2 separate regions of the Homo sapiens genome follow, and region 2 is linked to region 1. The links are contacts of gene promoters, found by promoter capture Hi-C in human tissues and cell types (Jung and others, 2019). All regions are on one chromosome and are shown on one strand. The core of a region is centred on a gene start or on the middle of the fragment in contact, and the rest is flanking DNA. Distances in the headings are between cores, read along the strand shown. Region 1 holds the start of CCR9 (C-C motif chemokine receptor 9). Region 2 overlaps SLC6A20 (solute carrier family 6 member 20).

The links. Contacts are between HindIII fragments. The study calls those that stand out against the background at their distance.
Region 2: a contact is called between a fragment that was not itself captured here and the fragment with the promoter of CCR9 in region 1, in 2 of the 25 tissues and cell types used here (mesenchymal stem cells and spleen).

What each region holds. Positions count from the first base shown.
Region 1 is chr3:45,883,023-45,889,809 of GRCh38, forward strand. CCR9 (C-C motif chemokine receptor 9) reads left to right here and starts at 3,521. Exons shown (of 3, transcript NM_031200.3): 1 at 3,521-3,633. It also overlaps a transcript of LZTFL1 not described here and the pseudogene SDHDP4. RefSeq lists a promoter at 2,537-3,536. The HindIII fragment of the contact is 3,685 bases long and covers 966-4,650 here.
Region 2 is chr3:45,774,393-45,781,179 of GRCh38, forward strand. SLC6A20 (solute carrier family 6 member 20) reads right to left here. Exons shown (of 11, transcript NM_020208.4): 3 at 5,617-5,708; 4 at 1,369-1,596. Among named protein-coding and RNA genes, the nearest start is that of SLC6A20, 19 kb to the right of the region's middle. The HindIII fragment of the contact is 5,169 bases long and covers 575-5,743 here.

The DNA of each region.
Region 1 (6,787 bases), core at 2,271-4,770:
CCTTGCCCTTAAACAGAACTTTGCTATACTCAGAAGCATTCCAAGCTTTTCTTCCTAGGATTTAGAAATTCATAATGTGAGATATCAGCATTTCCTAATTTTCAACTTCCCCTAGAATATGTAACCATCAGTAGCTGGTGTCTACTGAATAGAGAGGGAAGTTTTTGAAAATTAAACACGGTCTCATTTTCTGCAAAGTTTTTATTCATGAATTAACAGTATTTCTCTTTGCCCATTATTCCCAAGGCAAGTACAGAAGAAATTTGATCATGTAGTAATAGTAATAAAGCTGGATTCTCTTTAAGAGATTGATAAATTCAAAGGCAAAAGCTCATATATCATGTTGAGTTATATGTGAGTCTTATAAGAAGCTGGGAGGCAACCCCGTTAACTCACCAGAATACAGACCTCAGTCTCACAATTTCTTGGACATAATTCTTCTCAAACCTTTTCCTCAAAGCTTAAATTCTGAAAATAGTCTGGTGATTAAGAGAAGATGGCTGTCCACCAATGGATTTATCTGTTATTTCTTCCTTATTGTGAGTTGAATGGCGTGACAAAGTGAAGGCAAAGAGGCATGCATTAATTCTTCAAAGTATAAGTCAAAAAGGTCAGCGCTTCTACAATGTGGCAGTATCTTTGCAGATGCCCACATCATGATAGTTGAAAGAGCAAAGCCCAGAAAAGGCTAAAGCTGAAAGTGCCAAAAGGCCTGCCTTGGCAGCTTTCTGCAATGCATCCCCATGAACACAGTCAGGAACAACTTGTCCAAGGCCCCAAGACCATGAAGAGTGAGAGTTGCAGCCACGGAGTAGGCCATCACAGAGCAAGGATTCAGTTAAGCAGCTAGAAGCAGGCCCAGGAGCAAAACACTGACAATCCTCTCACTAGTCCAGTGGACAGATGCAGCCTTGGAACCAGAAAGGTGGCTCAGTGACAAATGAATGTGCTGCACTCCACGCCATTCTGGGGTAGGTTGGGTCCTGAAGAAATCCTGAGATCTGAGCAGGTCTGACAACTGGGGCTCGCAGGAACAGAGCTCAGCCTCCTTGGGCACCACAGAGGGCACTCAGCCTCTAGAGAACCTCCATCTCTTCCCTCAGAGTATGCTTATAGTGCCCTGTCCTCCAGAACTCACCTTTGGCAGGGTGAGAATGCAAGAGAGAAATAGCCCTTAGAAAAGGGGACCAGCAACCTTTTATAGTCACCCAGCTCTGAATTCTAGTTGCAAAGAAAGAAACACAGCAAAGAAAACAAGAGGATAGGGCTTTTTTCAGGAATGGACCTAAACTAGATTGCAGCAAAGGGAGTCACATTTGCACAAGCTCCTTTGAGAAAGCGGAAGTTCTCTCTATGACTTCCTTGCGTCTTCCCTTCTCCCCAGCCTCATGATCCTCTCTGCATCCCAGGAGAGGGCATGTGAGTGCTCTAGAGCAGCTCTTCCAGACCTGGATGGAAGAACCTACCTAAGCTTCCCCACCTCACCTGGACCACGGGGACCCGTGCAGAGGAGGGAATCTTCCCACACCGGTGCATTTACCCCTTCTCCTCTTCCCTGACGGCCAGCCTCACCTTCCTTCCTCCCCCGAGACTCACTCCAACGTCTAGGGGCAAGCAGTGTCTACCTTGTATGCTCTTACCTGATGAGGAAACAGCCTGAGTCAAGAGAAGGGAGAAGCACAGGCTTTTCCTCACCCATGGCAATTGCAATAGTGCGTGTCTCACCTCGCTGCAAGCTTTCCAAGGACGCAATCAAACACGGGGGAGAAACAAATTCAGCCAAGAAAGTCAAGTAAGGGAACATCTTCTTCCCTCTAGCACCAGTTCCTTTTGTGTCTTTATTTGCCAAGTGAGAGGGAGGAGTGAGATGCCAGAGCATCTGGCTGGTTCTCAGCTATGTATAGTTTCAGACACCATTTATTTGCAATGAGCGCCCGCCGAGGGAAGGGAATTTCACGGCTCCCTCGCACCGCCGTTCCTTAAGGCTGATGAATCAGACACCTCTTTCGTTCTTACTGTGCATGCCCTCTACCTTTCAGATGACCTATTTGTTGGCCTTTTTCCATTTAGACAATAAACCCAAGTGCACCTTCTGCATCCCTTTGCTCTACGGGAACTGAGGGTGATGAAGGGGACATGCGCCTGGGAGTACCACGCCATGACAGAGCGGCATTGAGTCCTCGGGACAATCAATACACCAAGAGGTGGAAATTAACATCCACAAGAGTGTAGTCATGATTTTCCCCCAGAACAAATATATAAAAGGGATCTTTGTCATAACAATGACAGGAAATCATTAATCACATCAGGATTGAAGTCCCCACTGTAGCAGTGGATGGGAAGACTTCGTCTGTGATCTTCATTAAAAATGCAATATTTTGTATATTTAGCTTTTTTCAAAGTTTTACCAAAACACCTGTAATTAATACAATTTATTGTATTATCTTTGTTAATGTATCTGATGTGCAAAACCTTACTAGATTTGCCCCAATTTGAAGGTGTCTGTGGCTTTCCAGCACTCCATGTGTTCCTAGCTACATCTCACAGGCAGACTTTCTAAAGCAGTGCCTTTCAATAGCACTGTTGGCGACGATGGACAGGTTCTGTATCTGCATTGTCCATTGGGATAGCCACTAGCTGCATGTGGCTATTGAGCACTTGAAATGTACCTGGCATGACTGAGAAACTAGTTAACACTTAAAACATTTTTCTTTTTTGATACAGGGTCTCAGTCTGTTGCCCAGGGTGGAGTGCAGTGGTGCAATCTTGGCTCACTACAACCTCTGCCTCCTGATCCTTCCACCTCAGCTTCCCTGAGTATCTGGGACTACAGGCATGGGCCACCATGCCTGCCTAATTGTTTTTGTGTGTTTTGTAGAGATGAGGTTTCACCATGTTGTCCAGGCTGTTCTTGAACTCCTAGGCTCTGCCTAGTGATCTGCCCGCCTCAGTCTCTCAGAGTGCTGGGACTACAGAGGTGAGCCACTGCACTGGCCCTAGTTAGCATTTTAATTAATTTGAATTTAAATAGGCACATCTGCCTAGTAGCTACTGTGTTGGATAGCACAGCCCTCCGGGTTCTGGTACGTCTGTCAAGGCCAGAAAAGGTATGTTGCGATGGATAGTGCTACATCTGCCACTGGGTGGTAATCTGATACAGGCCTGCTCAGGTGACACCACCTAAAGAAATCTCATCAGTGTGCACCTCTGGCAAGCCTGACAAGGCTGACTTCTCTCGATGGGATCCTCCAATTTCCCCATTCCCTGTAAGCAGCTGTGCTGTCTAGGAAGAGAATTTGCTCTTAGATCATCAGTCTGTATGTGCGTCTTCAGATGAGACAGTTTCCCCTTATCCCAGCAGTTTTCAGCTTTTTGTTTCTGGTTGCAAATGATTGACTCCGCTGATTGCTGGAAGCTACACAGGTGACTCCCCACCCTCTTGGGCTACCCCACCAGTGACAACACAGGCAGGGGTGGCCTGGCTTCCTTTCTCGTGTTGTTATCGGGTAGCTGCCTGCTCAGAACCCACAAAGCCTGCCCCTCATCCCAGGCAGAGAGCAACCCAGCTCTTTCCCCAGACACTGAGAGCTGGTGGTGCCTGCTGTCCCAGGGAGAGTTGCATCGCCCTCCACAGTGAGTATTGCTCTTCTTCTTGTTGCCCCCAACCCAGTGTCATCTTGGCCCTCAGTTGTGTGCTGCTATGATGGCTTCTAAAACCTGGGCTTGCACTCATTTGTTCAGAGGTCATGGGCACCAGGCACTTTTCTAGAAACTTCCAGGAAGGTAAATGGGAATTGGTGATGCCCAACCCAGGTTTCTTGTAGGGCGAGTAATAAAACTCCCTCCCCCTTCACATACATGAAGCTTAGGCTTAAGGCAGTCTGTGATTTATACCTTAAAGGAAGGAGAAGCAGGTGCTGGGGGACAAGATGGTGGCCAGGGGTAAAGGACACACCCATGAGGTCCTTGAGTCTGAGACACTGCCCCATGGAAAGGATTCTTTGTAGCAGTGAAAAACTGGAAACAAGGAAACTATGCATCAGGAGGCGAATGGTTAAATGAATTGTGATGTATCTAGACAATGGAATACACAGCAGCCATCCAATTCTATGATACGGTTCTATGTTGAATTGGCATGGAAGGTGATCCATGAAAGATGGGCAATTAGAAAGCAAGATAGAAGATTATATGTGTAGTCTGATTTCCTTTCTATTAAGTGCGTGTGTGTCTGTGTGTGTGTGTGTGTGTGTGTGAGGTTGTGTTACAGAGAAAAAGTCAGAAAGGAAGTATCTCAGAAACTTAACAATGGCTAAACTAGGAAAGGGTGCTTCAGGAGTTTTTATTTTCTATATTATGTATGTTGGCATTTTGGGGATTTTTTGTGCATTGTAAAAATACTCCTTTATGATCAGAGTAAAGCAAAAAGTTATTTTAAATGACTCATCAGTGGATGCTGGTTTGCCTTTTCAAACACACCTACCCTCTTTAGTTCTGAATTAGCTGTTACTCCATAGACGGCTGGCAAGTCCATCCAGAGAGTGGTCACTGTGTGCTGAACCGGAAGGGCTGTGCAGCAGCCAGTCTGTGGGATCCCATCTCCTTACTCCCTTTCCTGAACGAGCAAAAGCTAATTTACTATTTCAGCATCTGGAATTTCGGAGTCCTTTTCTTCCAATATCTGCTTATCTGTTCTGAAGCCTCTTTGTGTAGGCCTCACTCACAGGCTTGTGTTGGGAGCCCCTGGGCCCTGTGCAGCCCCTGCTGGGCGGTTGGCAGGCATCTGATCCAGGCATGGTGAGTGGATGGATCTGATAGATGGCTCAGAGACCCTGCCTCGTGTAGGGAACAAAAAGCAGAGCTATGAAAAAATGTAAGAGATGATTCAAGCTCCGTGTAGCAAATTGTACAAAGTTCAAAGTAAGGACCTGCATTCCTGACTCATGTTAGTATCTGATTTGATGTTAGTGCTGTAAGCATCAGAGGCTATAAGTGTGGGGAGATGCTGTGTGCACAATAACCCCATGCTGATTTTCATGTTGGCTACGTAAGAATGTTAGAGAATACAAAAATAGTGATTGGATAATAATAGGTTCCAAGCTAACTTTTCTAATAGGCACTTTTCTCTTTTGGAGAATTAGCAGCTCTCTCCCTTCCTTTATCTCCCAGGTCCCTGCACATACCCCATGCTTTCTGACTTTCATGCCTTAGTGCATATGTTTTCCCACCCTGGAGCAATGTTCCCTCCCCTCGTTGCATGTCTCCATGCTCTTCGGCCTTCAAGGACCCGCAAAAATGTCACCTCTTCAATGAAGCCCTCCTGGATTCTCCCCAGAGCTAAAGACATGACCTCCTTCTTCCAATTCCTACCACAACTCATAGCACTTTCCCTTTGTTGTTATTTGCAGCCATGACTTACTCAGTGTATTTGAATGCAAGCTTCTTGAGGACATGGATCATGTCTTACACATTGTTTAAGCCAAATAAATGTATCAGGTACTCAAGGCACATTGAATAAGTGGGTTCGATGGATGGCCCATGGCACCTGCAACAAGGCCTCACTGAGCAGCAAGGGAGAGATTTGCCACAGTGCTGAGTCAACTGCCCATCCACTCCCGACAGACCGCTGAGATGGTCCTCACTCTCAGTATGTTTGGTCATATGTGGGATTTTCCCCCCTATATTTTTCCCGCTTTCTCACTGGCAAGACAAAAATGAAAGCAAGCACTGAGACTTAGTAGCTGGGAGAATAAAATATTTGAGAAGTATTCTGACAAAAATGAAAGAGAAATAGATGGCAAGGCTGTCTGTGGAGGTTCTAGATGTGGGCTCTAGGGAGGGGTATGTCCTGTTTTTACTCTTTGGCTCTCTCCAAATTTTCTATGAGCCAGAAGCAGATGCATATTTTATAAACTGTAATATATTACATTCTATTATACACCATAATATATTACATGATATATACTATTTGTTTATTTATTTTAGAGACAGGGTCTTGCTCTGTCACTCAGGCTGCAGTGCAGCAGTGCAATGTTAGCTCACTTCAGCCTTGAACTCCTGGGTTCAAGCGATTGTCCTGCGTCAGCCAGCTGAGTAGCTGGGACTACAGGGTAGGCAACCATGCCTGGCATATTTTTAAATTTTTTGTAGAGATGGGGTCTTGCTCTGTTGCCCAGGCTGATCTCAAATTCCTGGCCTCAAGTGATGCTCCCACCTCAGCCTCCCAAAGTGTTGGAATTACAGGCATGAGCCATCTTGCCTGGCTTGTGTTTATATATTACCTTTAAAAAAAAAAATAAAGAGAAACCTTTATAGAAAGCTAGTGTACAACTTAGTTGCATAAAGTAGCCTCGGTGAATGTAATTACTAGACTTGCTCTTTCTGCGGTAGCTGGAGCAGGCTACAAGTTCCTCCTCTAGATGAGTTTTGTAAACAGGTGTGCTGAACGTTAGAGCATTGGGCTTCTTCTTCTTTTTTTTTTAAATCTGACAAGTTATTTTTATGACAGCTCTTAAAATAAAATTTTACACACTTGGTAAGATATTTAAATAGTTTGCAAAATCTAAATGAAAACATGAAAGTTCATTTTCCACTGGTCACAGTGGTTCAGTCTCCTTCCAGAAAATGTTTCGGTGCTGGTGAGCAGTGCAGTGTATGTCTTTTTCTATTTTTTTTTTTTTAAAGATCACACAACATAAGTCTTCCTACATGTTGCATTTTAATCTTATAGTCTTGAGGACCTCTTTTCTATCAGCATGAGGACCATCCTTGTTTATTGGCTACACATGGT
Region 2 (6,787 bases), core at 1,909-4,408, 110 kb before region 1:
TAAATTACAAAAACATTTTTTATGAGCATGACAGTATGGCCAGGCTCTACGATGGGACTGAGTGGGCTGCTGCAGGTTCTAAGCTCTCTCGGGGAAAGAGCACCTGTGCTCACTCGTCCCTTTCCTCAGCCATGGCACAGGGGACTTTGGGGGCTAAGAGGCTGGTCATCAGGGGCTCTTAGAAACCAAAATAAAATGCCCTACCAGGCATGATACTGGAGTTGTCCCATGGGCCCTGGAATACCATGGGTAGCTCTGGTCTAATGCCTCAAGAAATACATGGGGGGTGGGGTGTGGCTGGAGGAGACAACTCAGGTAGTCAGAGGGTGAGGACAGGTGGGCTCCTAGGACTCTCAGCAGGTGACAGTTGGAATTGATGACATCATTAAGGCATAGAGAGAGCTATGTGGCTACCAAACCAAGACAATGGGAAGTCTTGGGGTGAGGCTGGGCTTTGCCCTCACTAGCTGTGCCCTTGGGCAGGTCAATTTACCTCTCTAAGCTTCAGGTAACTGGGATCATGAAATCTACCATGAAAGGCTGTTGCCAGAATGACACAATGTGGGTGCTCAAGCCGTGGTGGGTCTACTGTGAGAAGTGACAGTGAATGAGACAGGGTGTGCTAGGCTCCGAGACATCTGCTGAAGCTTCAGGCAGGTGGCGGGTGATGGGAACACTGAAAGCAAACCTTCTACGTGGAGCAGACTAGAGATGAAGGAACATGTCAGCCCCAGTGAAAGTGTGAGCCTTGGGATGCACCAAGAAAGGATTATGGAGATCAAGCCCGACAGCTCTGGAGGGTGATTGGAAGCAGCTTAGAACAAAGGGTCTCAAACTCAGCTGCAAATTAGAATCACCTGGCGAGCTTTTAAACCTCCCCTGCCTCCCCACCCAGTGCTCAGGACACACCCCAGACTGGTTACTGCAGAATTTTGGGGGGCGGGGCTAAGGCATGAGATTTTTGAAAACTCTCCAGAAAATACCAATGTGCAGCTGAGTTGGAGAGCCAGTGGCTAGGGTGTCTCGAGGATACATACAATCTTAAAGAAAAGCAAACTCACTGTCTGGTTGTCTGGGTGGTATGGATTTGGGGCTGACTGCTACAGAAAAACTTTTTTTTTCTAAGAAAGTCCTTGTTTTGAGATTTAGGGTTGCAACTTTAACCATCTCTGGCCCTCTCTATAGTCATCTAGTAGGTGACTTGTCCCAGCAACACCATCTGTGCCCTCTGCCCTAACATAGCTGCTGCCTTTCCACTGCAGAGGGCACTCCCTTGGCATTGCCTAGGGTTGGAGACAGAGGCAGCTGCCCCTTGGTGCACCCTCCCACCCACCAGGAGCACCGGGCTTCTGTGCCTCACTGTCCCACCTTGCCAGTGGACTCGGTGCCACGCAGGATGCACAGGTACACCACCAGCCAGGCCAGGAGGAGGCACAGCGCCGGCTCCCACTGCACACCCCCGTTCTCCTGGAGGGACGGCGAGATATTGAGGGTTTTCCTGTACCAGAAGTACTGTGTGGAGGACGCCTTCTCACACTCCTCATCGTAGCCCGTGTGGTTACCATTCAGTGGGCAGACAGACCACGGCAGGGGATCCTGTGGGACCAAAGCAAGTGTTATCCAGGGAGGTGAAGGCTGAGGACAAAGGCTGTGGCAGGGGTGAGGGAGGTGGCCCTGAGCGGAGACTCTTGGAAGAGAAGGGTGCTGGTCCCCGAAGGGCAGGTGGCTGGAGCCCCTGAAGGCAGACTGGGAGTTGGAGAGTTTGTCAGGGGGCACGGGTGAGGCAGGAAGGGGTTGGAGGAGGGGGCTCTACTCTCGTTGCAATTCTACGGGTGTTCCTTGAGGACTACTGAACTCTGTGGTGGGTCCCAGAGACTGAATAGCAAATGGACCACAGCCAGGCCAGCCCTGATGATGGAACTCCGACCCACGGCCTGTGCACAATCAGCTCAGGCACTTAAACCACACCCTCTGCAGCACTGGCCCAGATTGCTTAGGACTTGGTCAATGATTGAGAGAGTCCCTATTTTTTGGCCAACTCAGAACCAACCAGAGAAAGTGACAGAGAGCCCAGTTCAGAGTAGCTTAAGCAGATGAGAGTCTTACTGGCTCCACCCTGCAAAGTCCAGGAGTCTAACTGCTTCAGGTATAGCTTGACTCTAGCTCAAAGAAGTCACCAGCACCAGGTTCTCTCGGGCTCAGACATGCAGGACAGCTGTGGGGCCTGAACCTCATCTCCTGCTAGCTTCCAAACCCAATGTACATTGCAGGAAATGCCATTCGCCACCAGCACTTAGTGAGCACAGAACCTGAGACTTACGCATCTCAGGACTTGAGGAAATCAGCAAAGACCACCCAAGTGAGAACAAGCAGAGGCTGTTTACTTAGGACTTGCTACAGCAAGGGCGATAGCAGCATCGCTTGCATTTGGCGGGGCTCCAAGGCAGGCGGGGATTGGGAAAGCTTGTTAGTGAGAAAAGAGAAGGCTCCAGGTGTGCCCCCATAGGAGGCTGCTGGCGTGTCACTTATGAACAAAGGAGCCTCAATGGTGCATGCATCATGACCATGACCCGAGGCCAAGTGGTAAACAGTGGTGCTGAGATGGGAGGGAGGGGAGGAAAAGTTACTTCTGACTGTGGGGTAGGAGACCCCAACCCTGCTCTTTGAGGACCAGCCCCACATTGATCAGTTTTGCACATATCTGGGTTCTACAAGCCCAGATTTAATTAGACAAAAACGCATCATTAATGGAAGCAAGTCTGACCACCCCACTGGGCTCAATCCCATATTTCACAGGAGACAGAACCAAGGCCCGGGGTATCACCTAATGGGTCATGGCTACTGTGCCAGTAGGCAGCTGGAGCCCAGGTCTGCACACCCAGACAGTGCTCAGGACTGTCCTGGTGAGGACCTCCACGCCCACCCCTGCAATACCTCCCCAGGCCACCCTAGCCTATTGGAATGTGTGAGCTGGTTTCTTGCTTTGACCCATATCGTGTTCAAAGCTGGCCACCAACAGTCCTTCCCCTTCCCATGTGCACATTTCTCCCATCCAGAAGTGGTGTCTCTTGCCTCAGCCTGTGAGTCTGGGCTGTCCTCCGATGCAAGCTGACCAACTGAATATGGTGAAGAGATGCTGTGTGAGTGACTTCCCGGCCCAGGACTTCAGAACCCTGTAGCTAGCCTCTCACCCTCTTGGAGACCAGCTGTGGGACATCCAGGCTAGCTTCCTGAATGATGCGGGTGCAGGGAGAGGGAGGCACGTGGAGGGAACTGAGGTGCCCAGTGGCAGCCAGCACCAAGTCCCAGGCAGGTGACAGGGGTCCTGGTAGACCTGAAGCCCAGTTGAGCTGCCTAGGCTGACATCCCCTTGGGCCATTTACAGCCTGTGTGGGACTGACCTGAGTCTGTTCCCTGGACTACCTGCTGATGCCAGACCGGGCCTGCTTCCCAGGCTTGGCTACACGACTAAGGCACCCGGGGGTGATGCCCAGGCTGCACCCCCAGTGACTCTGATTTCATCTGTTTGGGATAGGGCCTGGTCATTGGATTTTTCACACCTCCCCACCCTGCACCCCGCACCCCGCAACTTCATCTCCCCAGTGTGCAGCCAGGTTGAAGAAGGTTTAGCGTATAGGAGAACTTGTTAAATGGGCCAGTTCCCAGTCTGACCTCCCTCACTCACCTCTGAACCAGCAGGTGAGGACAAGGATCCCCGCATTTGTGTGCATAACAGCCCAGGTGCTCCTGCTGAGAAGGGCTGGACACAAGGCTGGAAAGCCTGGCCAGGGAGTGAGTAGACAGGAGCACAGACTCCGGGGCCAGGTCCCTGAGTCCAACCCCACCAGCTATGAGCTACTCGGCTCCCCTCTGCTCGGGTGCTCAGTGTGCTCAGCCTCGTGGGGTGGCTGTTTTGATTACATGAGTGAACACTTCTAAAGTGCTGGGACCTATGTCTGGCCCAAAGCACATGTAAGTGAATGTCTGCAGCTACTATTCCTCTCATTATTATGGGACCATGGAGGAGGGCTTCAAAGTAGAGGGACTAAGGGATAAGTCCACAGACCTATGAAGGATGGAATGAATGAATATTTAAGTGATTTTCATGAATCGCTGGCCCCCATACTTCTGACTATTAGAAAAAGATGCCCCTTTCTTGAGGCACTTTATTTTTGCTTTTGGGGGATGAGCAAATTATTCTGATTTTGTTAGGACAAGACACATTACTTCCACTTTTGGAAACTTGTCTTAATAAGTATACAAATCTATAATGCTTACAATGTGTATGGCAAGCCCTTAGTTGGCAGTACTGTTGTGCAGTGCACAAGCTGCCCAACCATACATGAGCCCTGCACAGAGGACAGGAAACAGTCACCAGGCTATAGAGTAAGAAGAGTTGCCCTGTTTCCACTGAGAAGGCTGGGGAGAGGCAGAGTTGTGGCCAGTGTTCATGAAACTCTAGGTTGAACCAGGGAAAGAAGGAGGGACTGCAACTAAGCTCAGGTTACAGCTTTCTTGCCAGAGATACGTGCAATGGGGCAAGCTTGGTGGAGCTCATTGGGAAGCCAGAGTGGGGTATGCCAAATCAGGATTATTAAAGTCATTCACCCAAGCATTCCTCACGCCCCCACAGAGTCAAGGCTATGCCCAAGCACCCCAGAGGCAAACCCAGTTCAGTCCATAGTCCATGCCAGCCCTATCTTGCTTGCGGACCTTGGGGACAGGCATGTCCCATGAAGGCCTGGCTCAGGGGCAAAGGGTAAGGCATTGGCCTGGTTAGCTCCTGCCTCCTCCACTGTTCCCAACTGGGAAGAAGCCAAGGTGAAGGTGGTTCCTGGAAGCAGGTGGGGGCAGTGGAGGATGGGGTTCCTGAGAGTGAAACGGTAGGAGCCAGGTAACAGAAATGAGCATGAGCAGTGGAAAGGAAAATTCCTCTTGTCCTGAATGTACACCAGCTCTCTGTGTGGAATTGGAGTTCTTGCTTCTCTACAATTCTAGCCCCTTCCACTTTTCTACAGAGTGTCAGCTGTAGTTATCATCAGAAATGTGTGGTTTAAAATGTTTAGGAATGGCCCTATTGTGTTACAGGGTGACAATGGTCCTTCTAGGAGAACTTAGGGGTCTGCAGGGAAAAGAAGAGGCTCAGGCTGGAGTCAGAAACCTGGAAGCACGAGTGGCCCTGAGGAAAGCGGGAGAAGGGGACGGGGAGGAAGAGGACAGGCCGTTGCTGTCTTGCTGGATTGAGGGAATCCCTCCCCACCAGTCCTCTCCACAGATTTCCTCCTAGGCACACTGTGCAGTAGTTCTTAATAGTGTGTGTGTGGGGTCACATCCATCAGAGAGAATCCACTGAAAGCCATGGACCTTCTCTCCAAGAACACGCACACTCTCACCGGTGGACTCTTGCTTACAGCGTAAGGGGCCCGTGGAGCCCGGGTTCAGAAGCCCTTCACGTGGTTTGGGGTGCATGGCTTCCCCTCCACCTCACACCACCCACCGGCTCCCCGCCCCGAGGCTGCTCACCTTGCCCCACACCCCCTTCCCCGAGCGGGTGGCCCTGTTTTTCTCTCCCTTTCTCGCTCCTACTCCTGTTCTGGCACGGGCCCCCCGGCTCACCTGGAAGGAGTGGAAGAGGTACCAGAAGGCCCAGGCGTTGATGACGTTGTAGTACATGGAGAGGAAGAAAGAGACCACCACGCTGGCGACCCCTGCGAGGAAGCAGAGGGCCGCGCTGAGGACTGAGGATGGCCCTTCCCCCTCCGCCAGGCCCAGCGTGTGCTCCCAGGACACACCTGTGGCGACCGCCCCGGGGTGGGCGAGGCCTCCCTCCACCAGGTTTGTGTGGTGAGTATTAAGCGAGACCAGGCACCTGTGAACACTTGGGAAGGGTGATTTCTTTTTCTCCAACCTCCCTCCTCACCTTCTGGGACAGGAGGCTGATGACATGTTTTTGAGATCTAACTGCCAGGCACTGTGCTAAATAAGTACTTTATTTACCTTTGGTCCTTACAACAGTATTATCTTCATATCGCAGAAGAGAAAACTGAGGCCTGGAGCCTGCCCAAGACTACCCGGCTGTTAAGTGGCAGAACTGGGTTCACAACCTCATGCTGTGAGAAGCACTGTTGCTGTGAAGTGCTACCTTGTCCAGATGTACAGTTATGCTCCCTCCTTGGCTCACCAGCGGTTGAGTCACCTGGTAGCCAGGAGAGGGGGTGTGAGGAGGCGGTGGGGAGGGGGCTGCCCGTAATTCGGTCAGGCCTGCACAAAACCCAGGGTGCGGCCTGAGAGCACAGAGAGGGGTGGGAGGCAGCAGGGCTCTGGGGCTGGCCCACACCAGCCCTTGAGAACCAGCGTCCCCTCCTCTCCCCAGCCGCAAGTGCTGGGACACTCGGTAGTAGAAACCGGCCATGGTGCCTGTATTTACCCCATAGGCATCCGCAAATGCTATAAACCAGGGCTTCCCCTCCCCACCCCCACTCCACTCTGAGCACTGGTTGTTAAATATTCACCAGCATCCCCTGGTTGGCACAAATATCTGGTATCTTTCCTATGATGCAGAAGATGCCTCTGAGAAGTCCTCTGTGATTGCTTATTCAGGCAGATTGTAAAACTACACACTTCTGTGTTAAAAATTAATAGCCTAGCGAAACCCCATCTCTACTAAAAATACAAAAAATTAGCCAGGTGTGGTGGCGGGTGCCTGTAATTCCAGCTCATCAGGAGGCTGAGGCAGGAGAAACGGTTGAATCCGGGAGTGGAGGTTGCAGTGAGCCGAGATTGTGCC